Regions from separate parts of the Homo sapiens genome. Here all the other regions are linked to region 3. Evidence: promoter capture Hi-C in 16 types of primary human blood cells and fetal thymus (Javierre and others, 2016). All regions are on one chromosome and are shown on one strand. The core of a region is centred on a gene start or on the middle of the fragment in contact, and the rest is flanking DNA. Distances in the headings are between cores, read along the strand shown.

Region 1 (3,588 bases), core at 9-2,508, 4.1 Mb before region 3:
ACGTTGCAATTGGCAATTGGCACACACAGTGATTCCGGAGGTGGATGGTTCTATGGTTCAGTGGCTCGTTGGGCCCAACAAGGATTCAGACCATTTCTGTATTTCCACCTGTTGTCTTTTTAGCTATCATTGGCTTTTTGTTCTTAGGTTTGTCACCTCATGGTTGTCCAGTGATGGCAGCCACTGCACCTGGCATTCTACCCAGGACGGCAGGAAGTCATTAGGGAAATAAAAATTCTTCCAGAAGCCCCCTCAGCAGGCTTCTGCTGATATTTCATTGGCTATAACCATGTCAATTGGCTGTCACGGAGGCTGGAGGGTGGGCATTTGGGTTTTCCTGTCTTCACAGAGGAGATGAGTAAAGGAGGGGTTTACCTCCCAGGGAGCTATGAAGAGCTGAGTCGAGTAGGATCTAGGAAGTTCCCTGAGACAGCGCTTCTCATGCGTCAGTGTGCACATAATTCACCTGGGGATCTTGCTACAAAGGAAATTGAGATTCGGTAGAGCTGGAGCGGTGCCCAAGATTCTGCATTTCTAACAAGCTCCCTGGTGATGCCAGTGCTTTTGGCTCAAGGACCATCCTGTGTATAGCAGGCATCAAGGAACAAGGAAAGCATTACCAAAAAGGTGGCTCCTGAGCAGTGTTCTGAAAGATGAATAGAAATTTGCAGGGCAAGGAAGTGGTGGAGTTGCATGAAAGGGCGTGTGGTTTTGGGGAATAGACATTTAGTGGCTGGCTGCACCATAGAGAGCAGTGGGGGTGCAGGAAGCCTGGGAGAAGAGTGTTGGAAACTCACTGTGAAGGGCTTCGTGAGCTATGCTGGTTTGGATTTCATCCTCTGCAAGTTGAAAATCCAGAGGTGATTTTTAAGCAAGGAAGTGATATAATTAGATTCTTTTCCCCTTTTTATTCCCCCGGTTAGGTAACTCTGGCAAATTGATTACTTTTTAAAAAAAGGTTTTATTTTAGCTAAATTTGATGGGTATTATTTTGAATATAAAGAAAGTTGAATGCTAAGGCAGGACGCAGTGGCTCATGTCTGTAATCCCGGCACTTTGGGAGGCCAAGGTGGGTGGATCACTTGAGACCAATAGTTCCAGACCAGCCTGGACAACATGGTGAAACCCCATCTCTACTAAAAAAATACAAAAAGTAGCCGAGCGTGGTGGCACACACCTGTAATCCCAGCTACTCGGGAGGCTGAGGCACGAGAATCTCTTGAACCCAGGAGGTGGAGGTTGCAGTGAGCAGAGATCATGTCACTGCGCTCCAGCCTGGGTGACAGAGTGAGACTCTGCCTCAAAAAAAGGAAAAAAAAAAAAGAAAGGTAAACACCAGAAGGTGGACCTGAGGCATACCTCACTGTGCTTCGCCTGCTTGGGGTGGACATCGTTATTTCATTCAGATATTCTTCACTTTCACATCGCTCACATTCAGCCTTAGAATCCTGCTCAGTTCTAGAAGGGCTCCAGGCAGCCACCACCACCTAGTTGAAGTTGGCAGAGGAGATAAAACCAATTTGCCATCTTGAGATAGTTACCTTGAGGTTAGAAAAGCACTTACTATGTCTTTGTGCTTTTATTATCTTAAAACTTTAAGTTACTAATGCTTTTCTTTGTAAGTTTTTCAATTAGAGTTCTTTCTTCCTTTTTAACCACATTGATTTGAGTTTTAGGAGCTTGCCAAGTAGATGGTTTTTGGTTTTGGATGGGCTAGATGGTTGTTAAAGTTGGGTTTTCATTTCCCAGGATGAAATGAGTTGACTAGCTCAACCTTGATATGCTGTAAAAAATGTCTCTAGCCATTACCTTTATCCTTTCTCTTTTCACACAGATTTTTTGTTTGTTTGTTTCCTACTCTTAGAGCACTGGTTTTCAACACGGGCACTTTTGCCTGTCCTCACCCCACCCTGCCCCCACCCCCTGGGACATTTGTCGATGTCTGGAACCCTACTTGGTTGTCACAGCTGGGATCAGGGTGCTACTGGCATGTGGTGGTAGATTCCAGGGATGCTGCTAAATGTCACACAATGTGCAGGACAGCCCCCCTTACTAAAGGGTTTTCACCCCAAAGTGTCAGTAGTGCTGAGGCTGAGAAACTGTTTGGAGGAAAGTTTGGAGACTCAGCGCAAGTTTCCTTTTACTTCCCCAGCCTTTAAAATGGTTACCTTGTTATCTCTCGCGCTCTCTCTTTCTCTCTCTCTCCCCCCCCCCAACCTCTCCCTCTCTCTTTCTCCTTCTCTGTCTCTGAGTGTGTATATGTGTTTGCAGCAGCACTAGGGTAAAACTTGGGCTTCACTGGCAGGACCCTTGCATCACTTTCCTAGTAAAATAGTGAGAGTAAATAAATCACTTTGAATACATAATATGCCATTTTAAAGGGAATCAGCTTATTGCTTTCATAGGAGCATGGGTGCCCCAGATTCTTACAAATGCTTTCTGAGTTTTAGAGCTCAGAGCCGTTTTGCAGCAAGTAAAAAGATGGATGGTCATCTTTCAAGCAAGAAAGATAAATTTTATGGCAGCAGTTTTTAAATTGTGCTGGCAAAGAACAGCTAGCACAGAGTGATCTATTGATAAAAGAATTGTGGGGACTCCTTCCAGATTTGCAGTGAAACAAATGGTAATTGATGAATAGAATTCTCTCTCCCATTTTTTTTTCCTTGAACTTTGGTGCCTTGTGGTGCTTATTTATTAGTGAGAATTCTCAAGTCACAAAAGGAATAAACTTGTATAAGAGACTAGTGGTGAACAACCTGGCAATCAGAGGCTCACACTTGCTGAGTTTCCCAGCCTGCTTTTCCATGCACTCATGCTGGGGGTTCTGGTGCTATGCTGCAAACCCATGGTACACAGTTTTTTTCTTGTTAGTGTCAAGCTCTTTAGTATACTGATACTTCAGTGTTTTCCACAAAGCACACTGACTTCAGGGTGTCCCTTGGAAAAAATGAAATTGTGTAGGTCACATTTAGCTTTGTGACAGAGTATAAAATAAAAAGTACATCCCTTCCTGGTCAGTTCTCTGGTCCATCAAATGCCATCACTTGAGTTTTAGCAAAGCTCCACACCTCTGAGGGAGAAAGTTGATAGAATCATGAAGTTTTAGACTTGGAAGCAGACTTGGATGTGGTGTGAGTAGTTCCTAGCCTTTCAGGATGTGGGAACTGAGTTCACCCACTAGCTAGAGGTTGAGGGAGCAGAACCAGAATTCTGACTTCCACTGACTGTGAACTCTGTGTACCCCTGCACTGCTGGTGCACAAACTGGGTCCTGGGCCTGGGTGGCCTTATCAGTACAAGCAATGAAACGACAGGTCTCAACATAACACGTACATGGGCAGAGGGGACGTGCTGAAACGTGTAACATTTTTTCCTCTGAGACTGTGGTGCTGAATTGGAGTGAAAATAAGGTCATCTGCAGCTAGCTTCACGTTTGTGCCATTGCTCCTCAGGCTTAGGTGTTTTTGGAAGTCTTTCTTAAAACACATTCCTTTCAGACTGTTTCAACACGTATATCAACACATGTGGATCTCTCTCCAGTAAGCTTTGAGCTGATGTTTACCACATCTTACCAAGTTTGGTAAAAGTG
Region 2 (3,761 bases), core at 1,141-3,640, 4.0 Mb after region 3:
GGGTTTTTTTGTTGTTGTTGTTCCCCTTACAGACAAAATGAAGACTATCATGTGCAATCTTTTACAGTGGGGTTGATGATACATTTGGAAGGATTTGCTTGTTTAATATGTACATTTTTTGTGTTAACAGCTTTTTGACACAATTACTGGGTAATTTCTAATATAGGCAGCAGACTGTTTTACGGGTTGCTGTTTTAACATGGGTTTTTGTCAGATCCATGGTCTTAGGACTTGACTGATGAGCTTTCAGTGAAGAATCCTCTAAGATAAAACTTCTATTTAAAGACTTTAACTAGAAAGTGTTTATTTTGGCTACATTGTTCACCTTCTGCTGTATTGGTATTTGTCTGTTGGGATTTCAAGGGAGTGTAGAGAAGACAGAAGGAAAGCTGAGAGCTGGCCCGACATGGTCTGGGACACAGAGTTGGAGCTGGCACTGAAGATCTCCAGGGACTTCAGAGACCAATAAAAGCCCATAGGGAAGAGAGAGAGGATATAGGGAAACAGAATCAGATGTGTAATATACTTGGCACAGCGAAAAAATGGATTTAAAAGACAAAAATGGAGGTCCAGGTAGATGTAATTCACACAGACTGAAAGTGAGTTCGGGCTTGTGTAAAACACATGAGATTGGATTTGACCCCTTGGCTCTCAAGTGTCCCCTTAGATCTAGAACTGCTCCTTGGTGGCCATTAGATCGAGTCAGTTTTGATCTGCATCACTTAGTTATTGGGAATTTCTTTGTTGGAAACAGGAAAATTTTTTTAGATTATTTGGTGTACGGTTTTGCTCACAACAATAGGTGGAAGTTGCTAGTGCAGTCTTGGTCTGATGGCTGTGTGCATCGCACATTCGGCTTGGTGAAATCCTTCTCTAAAGCCTCTTTTTGTATTTTTATAACTAAACAGAGGAAGTCTTCAGAAGACCTCGCTTTAAAACAAATTTGTGCAAACACTGCTAGAGTCATTTTGAAGCTCAAGCATTTTCACTTTGTTTCTTACATGTGTACTTTTTTGTTTACTTGTGAAAATGGCCATCTTTAAGCATATTTATTTTCTGCCACTTTATTTAAAGGCAAGCAATATTTTCTTGATCATAAATATTTTGTAATGAAATACTTCCTCTTTTCCAGGGCTTTGTATGCACTTGTATAATTACATTGATGGCAATGTAGAGTTTGAATTTCAGTCTGTAAATACTTTTTTGGAAAATAGAAATTTTTATTGCTTTAAAGTTTTGGATATGGGTGGTTTTCTTTTCCGGGTTTGGTGGAAAGTAATTTGAGAACTTTAAGGTTGTCTTTTTAACTGCTGGCAAAATGTTGATTTTTTAATATTAGATAAAACGAGTAAACGAAATTCCCCAGAAATTAGTAGTAAGTGGGGTCTTTGTGGGTTGGGAAGTAGTTTTAATGTAGAAAGACATTTACATATAAGTCTGTTTAATTTCAAAGGAGTTTGTGAAAAAAAATCCATGGTGAAAATGAAACAATGACATGGTTAATCTGGAACTTACGTTCTTATACCAATAAAAGGTACCTCAATACATGTTCTTTCAATTTCTGTTTTGTTTTTTTTTTTTTAATTTAATGTATTAAAGCATTTTGCAGTGGAAAACTCCTGAGGCATTGCTGTTGAAGAGGGAGAAATAGTGCTGGTGTGGCGGGGAGCTTGATGGAATTCATTGCATGCCGGGGTGAGGATGGTTTCCGTGTGCACTATATGAAGTATCCGCGACTCTCCTTAATCACACCCAGCAAAGAGTGATTGAGGCTTGAGCAGGTCCAAGGGAAGCAGACACTTCTTTCAAAAAGTTACATGCTTTGAAGGGACATCTATGGGGAAAAATACTGTGAAATCTCCTTATAAATTACATGCCAACAATGGGAATTTTTCCTTTCACTAAAAAGCTGTCAGTTGTAGGAGTCTCCAGGGTCTGTCCTTTTGTCTGTGTGCTCTGGTTTGGTCTTCCTTGATGAGAAGTGGCTGAATTTTTACAAGTCAACTTACCAAGTGCCATGGGCTTCCTTTCCTAGCTAGCTGTTTGACGTTGAGCAAGTTACCTAACCTCTCTGAGCGCTAATTAAACTGTAAAATGGGAATAAGATACTAGTGTAAGGCTTTAAGGATTCGATGCATGTACAAGTTAATGGCTGTTGTTTTCTTGCAAGAAAGGAAGCACTTCCATGGGAAGTTTTTTTTGGTTAAAGATAACTTCTATTTCTTCCATAATACCTACCTCCCTGGTACCAACTTAGATCTGAACTGGAGAGGAGGAACCAGCGTGTTTCCCTTGCCGGGCAGTGCTTACGATGGTGGTTCTTAACCCTGGCTGTGCCCTAGAATCAGTCCCTTGGAGTGCTGAGAAACTAAGGATGCCCAGGCTCACGTCACACACCAACTCAACCTTTGATTGAATCAGTCTCCAGAAGAGGGGTCTGGACATGGATGGTTTTTAAAGCCCCCTGGTGATTCGAAGGTGCAGGCTGCCTTGAGAACTGTTCATTGGTGTACAACTGCATACTTTTCTTGTTTCAACTAATTGAACATCCAAAGCTCCACCATGTTTTCTTCCATCAAATGCTTTTGTGTGTTTCAGTCTGACTCTGGATGGTTGAGTAGGATTTATAATGTATCTAATAATTTGGGGCCAGGTGTGGTAGCTCATGCCTGTAATCTGAGCACTTGGGGAGGCCAGCAAAAGGATCTCTTGAAGCCAGGAGTTTGAGATCAGCTGGGGCAACATAGTGAGACCCCCATCTCTACATTAAAAAATTTGAAACACAAATTGGGATCCTTTCACTAAATATTTACTAAGGTTCTGTATAATGTTCATCATTCTTTTTTTTGAGACAAGAGTCTCACTCTGTCACCCAGGCTGGAGTGCAGTGGTGCAATCACAGCTCAACAACTGCAACCTCCGCCTCCTGGGCTCAAGTGATCCGCCCACCTCAGTCTCCTGAGTAGCTGGGACTACAGGTACGCACCACCATGCCTGGCTAATTTTTGTATTTTTAGTAGAGATGGAGTTTCACTATGTTGGCCAGGCTGGTCTTGAACTCCTAACCTCAAGCAATCTGTCCGCCTCGGCCTCCCAAAGTGCTGGGATTACAGGCGTGAGCCACCATGTCTGGCCTCAAAAAAGTGTAATTTAAAAAATATTTCCCTGTATATATTCTTTGAACTTTGCCATCAGCCATCTTGTGAGGCAGGTTGGTTTCCTATCTTAAAGAAACAGGCTTTCCAACATTGTAATTAGTGCTTTCTTTTTCTTTTTCTTTTTTTTTTGAGACGGTCTTGCTGTAATCACCCAGGCAGGAGTGCAGTGGCACAGTCGTGCCTCATTGCAGCCTTGACCTCTAGGGCTTGATTGATCCTCCCGAGTAGCTGGGACTACAGGCCTGCCACCATGCCCAGCTAATTTTTGTATTTGTTGGAGAAGCAGGGATCCCTGTGTTGTCCAGGCTCGTCTCGAACTTCTGGGCTCAAGTGAGTCCTCCTTCGGCCTTTCAAAGTGCTGGGGTTACAGGCATGAGCCGCAGTGCTGGCCACACACCTGCTATTGCTTCCTCATTGCCTGTAGACCAAAATTTGTGGAGCTGGGTGGGAAGAGAGGTAGGGGAGTGGTTTCCTGCTTGTTATCTGGCTCATTTAGTCCTTTAACACAGTACTCAGCCTAGGAGATTGATAACCTGAGATTACTTGAAAAAAGATCACCCAAAAGTGAAAAACCAGTTAGGCAAACTGCACCAGCCCCAGGCA
Region 3 (3,658 bases), core at 1,124-3,623:
AATGGTGAAAACCCATCTCTACCAAAAATATAAAAATTAGCCAGGCATCGTGGCACGTGCCTGTAGTCCCAGCTACTCAGGAGGCTGAGGCAGAACAATCACTTGAACCCAGTAGGCAAAGGCTGCAGTGAGCTAAGATCATACCATTACACTCCAGCCTCGGTGACAGAGTGAGACTCTGTCTCAAAAAAAGAAAAAAAGAAGCATAAAACATGTGTCCCATCTCTAACACTAGCCTTGGGAAAATCAGGATCGACATTTCTTACATATAAAATTGGCTGGGTGCGGCGACTCACGCCTGTAATCCCAGCACTTTGGGAAGCCAAGGAGGGAGAATCACTTGAGGTCAGGAGTTCGAGACCAGCCTGGTCATCATGGCGAAACCCCGTCTCTACCAAAAATTCAAAAATTAGCCAGGCGTGGTGGTGCATGCATGCAGCCTCAGCTACTCGGGAGTCTGAGGCAGGAGAATCACTTGAACCCAGGAGGCGGAGGTTGCAGTGAGCTGAGATCGCGCCACTGCACTCCAGCCTGGGCGACAAAGCAAGACTCTGCCTCAAAAAAAAAAAAAAAAAAAGGCAATAATCAGGCTCTTTCCTTTTTAAGGGAAAACATACAATAATAAACTTTTCTTACTGAGTTATGAGGATAAAATAAGATATAAGAAGCAAAGTAACTTTATAAACAGAAATGAGTCTTATTCTGTTATGCTCACTGGCTGAACAGAGCAGCATTAAAATTCACATTCAACAACCCTCGGAGTTTTGCCTGCATTACCATATACTTTAAAGTAAAATTGAGGCTCGGTGCTAGCTCTCAAATGCATCACTTTATGTCCATATTTTCCCAAAGTGTGAAACATGCCAGTGTGGTACCTACAAAATATTAAGTGGCTTATGGATATGCAGCAAATAACCCCATGTAGTAAGGGGTACTCTTTCAAAATCTCTTGCAATCTCTTTCATTAAGGAAGATAACTCCATTTACAGCTGGTATAGCCTTAACACTTTCCCAACACTTGCTAATTTCCCCTTTGTAACAGAAAGACAGTATTTAATACAATTTCATAACTTTTTAATTTGTTTGTTTTTTTTTAATGATTACTCACCCATTTGTGGCAAGTGGCACTGGCTTCCCATTCACCATAAGGATTTTGTTTCAAGGAAATTAATTTAATTTTTAAATGGGACATAGCTATACAAAAAAACACATCTAGTAATCAAAAGTTCAAGCAGTACTGCCATTAGGCAAAAATCCCGAAAGTGGTACACGGTAATTTAACGTTGAGAAAACGACTTCATGAAATTTCTTTTTTTTTTTTTTTTTTGCGCGGGGGAGACAAAGTCTCGCTCTGACGCCCAGGTTGCAGTGCAGTGGTGCAATCTCGCCTCAAAGCAATCTCTGCCTCCCGGGTTCAAGCGATTCTCCTGTCTCAGCCTCCTGAGTAGCTGGGATTACAGGCACCTGCCATCACGCCTGGCAAATTTTTGTATTTTTAGTAGAGGCGGGGTTTCACCATGTTGGCCAGGCTGGTCTCAAACTCCTGACCTCAGGGGATCCTCCAGCCTCGGCCTCCCAAAGTGCTGAGATTATAGGCCGGAGCCACCGCGCCCGGGCTCATGACAATTTTCTAAGGCAGCACAGATGAAACAAGGAAAGCAGGAACCAGGGTCCAAAACCATGTCTCTCTACTCTAAATTCGATGCTCCTTCCACTACACTGATGGCTTTCACAGTTTACAGTGCATGCAAATCACCTAAAGGTCCTGTTCACAGATCACAGATACCGACCAAGTAGGTCGGGGTGGGGCCCGAGAATCTGTATTTCTAGCGAGCGCCCAGAAGTAGCGGAGGCTGCTGGTCGTCGGGCTACCCTTTGCCTGGCAAGGCCCTGGGCAAAGACTACAAAGAGAGAGACTCCCGGAGACGCTGAATTTTCAGTGTCGCCAACTGTCCTCGACTCGGAACGCTGGCCGCACCTGCCGTGACATCACTGCACAGGGGTGCAATTGCGTCACTCCCCAGGCGTCACTGCCGAAACAACCCCTGTCCTCCTGTCACTCTCGCCGCTAACTACAGACCCCGCCCCGCCCGCCAGCGCCCCGGAGGCCGAAGTCACGCAGTCGCGCTCCGTCGCAGGCCTGTGACGTTACGAACCTCTCCCCCGTGACCTCTTCGACCCAAACCTCAAGCGAAAATTCCCTAGCTCGCTAGACCGGCGCAGGACTGTGACTGCGCGCCTCCTTTTACCTGAGAGGGACCGCCGGGCCCCCGGGCGCAGCCGCCAAAGGCGGGGAGCCGCCGCCGCCCCGGCGCAACTCATTGCCGGAACTAAAAAAAGCAACCACTTCGTTGAACGGAACTGGCCAATAGTGCCCTTGGCTCGGACTGATGACGCACAGCAGACGTAAGGAAGGCTCAGCTCGCCCGCGCACCGGTGGGAACGCCCCCTAGCTCTGCGCTAGGGGTTAGATTGGTTAGATACGACAAATAAAAAGATTTTATTGGGTGGGGTCACTGTCAATCACTCGGAAGACCAAGGCCAAGGCGCCTTGGGTTGCCAGGGAGATGAAAATGCTAAATTGCTGTTTAGAAAGATCAGGACAAGGTTATGATTTCTCACCCAAGTTCCTGGGGAAAAGGATCATGAGGGAATTACTTATTAACAAGGCACGGTATTTCCTGCTTTACCTACGTGGAAGGAGATTTTTTTTTTTATTTGTATCCTACATCTACTTTAAAATAGTAAGCCTGGGCAACATAGCGAGACCCCGCCTCTACAAATAATTTTAAAAATTAGCCGGGTCTGGTGGAGCACACCTGTAGTCCCAGCTACTCGGGAGGCTGAGGTGGGGGGATAGCTTGAGCCCGGTAGCTCGAGGCTGCAGTCAGCCGTGATTCTGCCACTGCACTCTAGCCTGGGCCCTGTCTGAAAAATAAATAAATAAATAAAATTATATGTATATCTAAATTACATGCACCACATGGTTAATGGTGTTATATAGTGTTATCTCTATTGGTGGGCTGAAAGCCAACTTTAAACTTCTTCCCGGTCTTTTCTCTATTTTCAGAAACAGAGAACATGTTTTATCCTTGGTATCCACCTTAATGTACTGTGTGCATGTATGCATGTATATTTGTGCAAATTGGAATTTTTTGAGAAGGGAGGGGAAATTTAGCAACATACTTTAAAAAGATCATATAATACAGCAGTCTTACTTTTAGGAATCTACTCAACGAAATAATTTTTAAATGAGTAATGTACATGAGGGCAAAAATCAAAGATGCGTGTCTGCAAGGATATACAACGTTTAATATTGGCAACATCAGGGGGCTGGAACTGGGAGAAGGGAGCTTTCACTTTCTACTTTACACCCTTGGATTATTTATATACTTTATCCAAGTTTACCATAAAATATTTTAAGATGGAATACAATTGTAAAATTATTGAATTCAAGTTTTTAGTTTTTATATCACTCTAGTGTTCAAATTGACACACCAAAATAATTTAAAATTATGATGAACCCAAATACTACTTAGTGAGGATGTTGTAGCACTCTCATGTAAAACTACTGAGTGTCTGAATCTGGCGCTCAAAAGCCTTAAAATGTTCAAAACCTTTGCTGTAATACCACTTCTAGGTCTCTGTTTCCTTTTTG

Evidence for each region. Contacts are between HindIII fragments. The CHiCAGO score rates a contact against its expected background, and 5 or more counts as called.
Region 1: a contact is called between a fragment that was not itself captured here and the fragment with the promoter of COQ7 in region 3, in 1 of 17 cell types (total CD4 T cells). The highest score is 7.2, in total CD4 T cells.
Region 2: a contact is called between a fragment that was not itself captured here and the fragment with the promoter of COQ7 in region 3, in 1 of 17 cell types (neutrophils). The highest score is 5.3, in neutrophils.

Annotation. Positions count from the first base shown.
Region 1 is chr16:23,142,212-23,145,799 of GRCh38, reverse strand. The region is part of intron 1 of USP31 (ubiquitin specific peptidase 31); the gene reads left to right. Among named protein-coding and RNA genes, the nearest start is that of USP31, 5.4 kb to the left of the region's middle. The HindIII fragment of the contact is 4,574 bases long and covers 1-3,545 here.
Region 2 is chr16:15,057,819-15,061,579 of GRCh38, reverse strand. RRN3 (RNA polymerase I transcription factor RRN3) reads left to right here. Exons shown (of 18, transcript NM_018427.5): 18 at 1-1,547. It also overlaps a transcript of PDXDC1 not described here. Among named protein-coding and RNA genes, the nearest start is that of NTAN1, 3.6 kb to the right of the region's middle. The HindIII fragment of the contact is 5,530 bases long and covers 1-3,761 here.
Region 3 is chr16:19,066,329-19,069,986 of GRCh38, reverse strand. It overlaps COQ7 (coenzyme Q7, hydroxylase), which reads right to left and starts at 2,373. Exons shown (of 6, transcript NM_016138.5): 1 at 2,250-2,373. The coding sequence starts at 2,322. COQ7-DT (COQ7 divergent transcript) reads left to right here and starts at 2,296. Exons shown (of 3, transcript NR_119381.1): 1 at 2,296-2,406. RefSeq lists an enhancer at 2,010-2,159 and a silencer at 2,190-2,349. The HindIII fragment of the contact is 11,366 bases long and covers 1-3,658 here.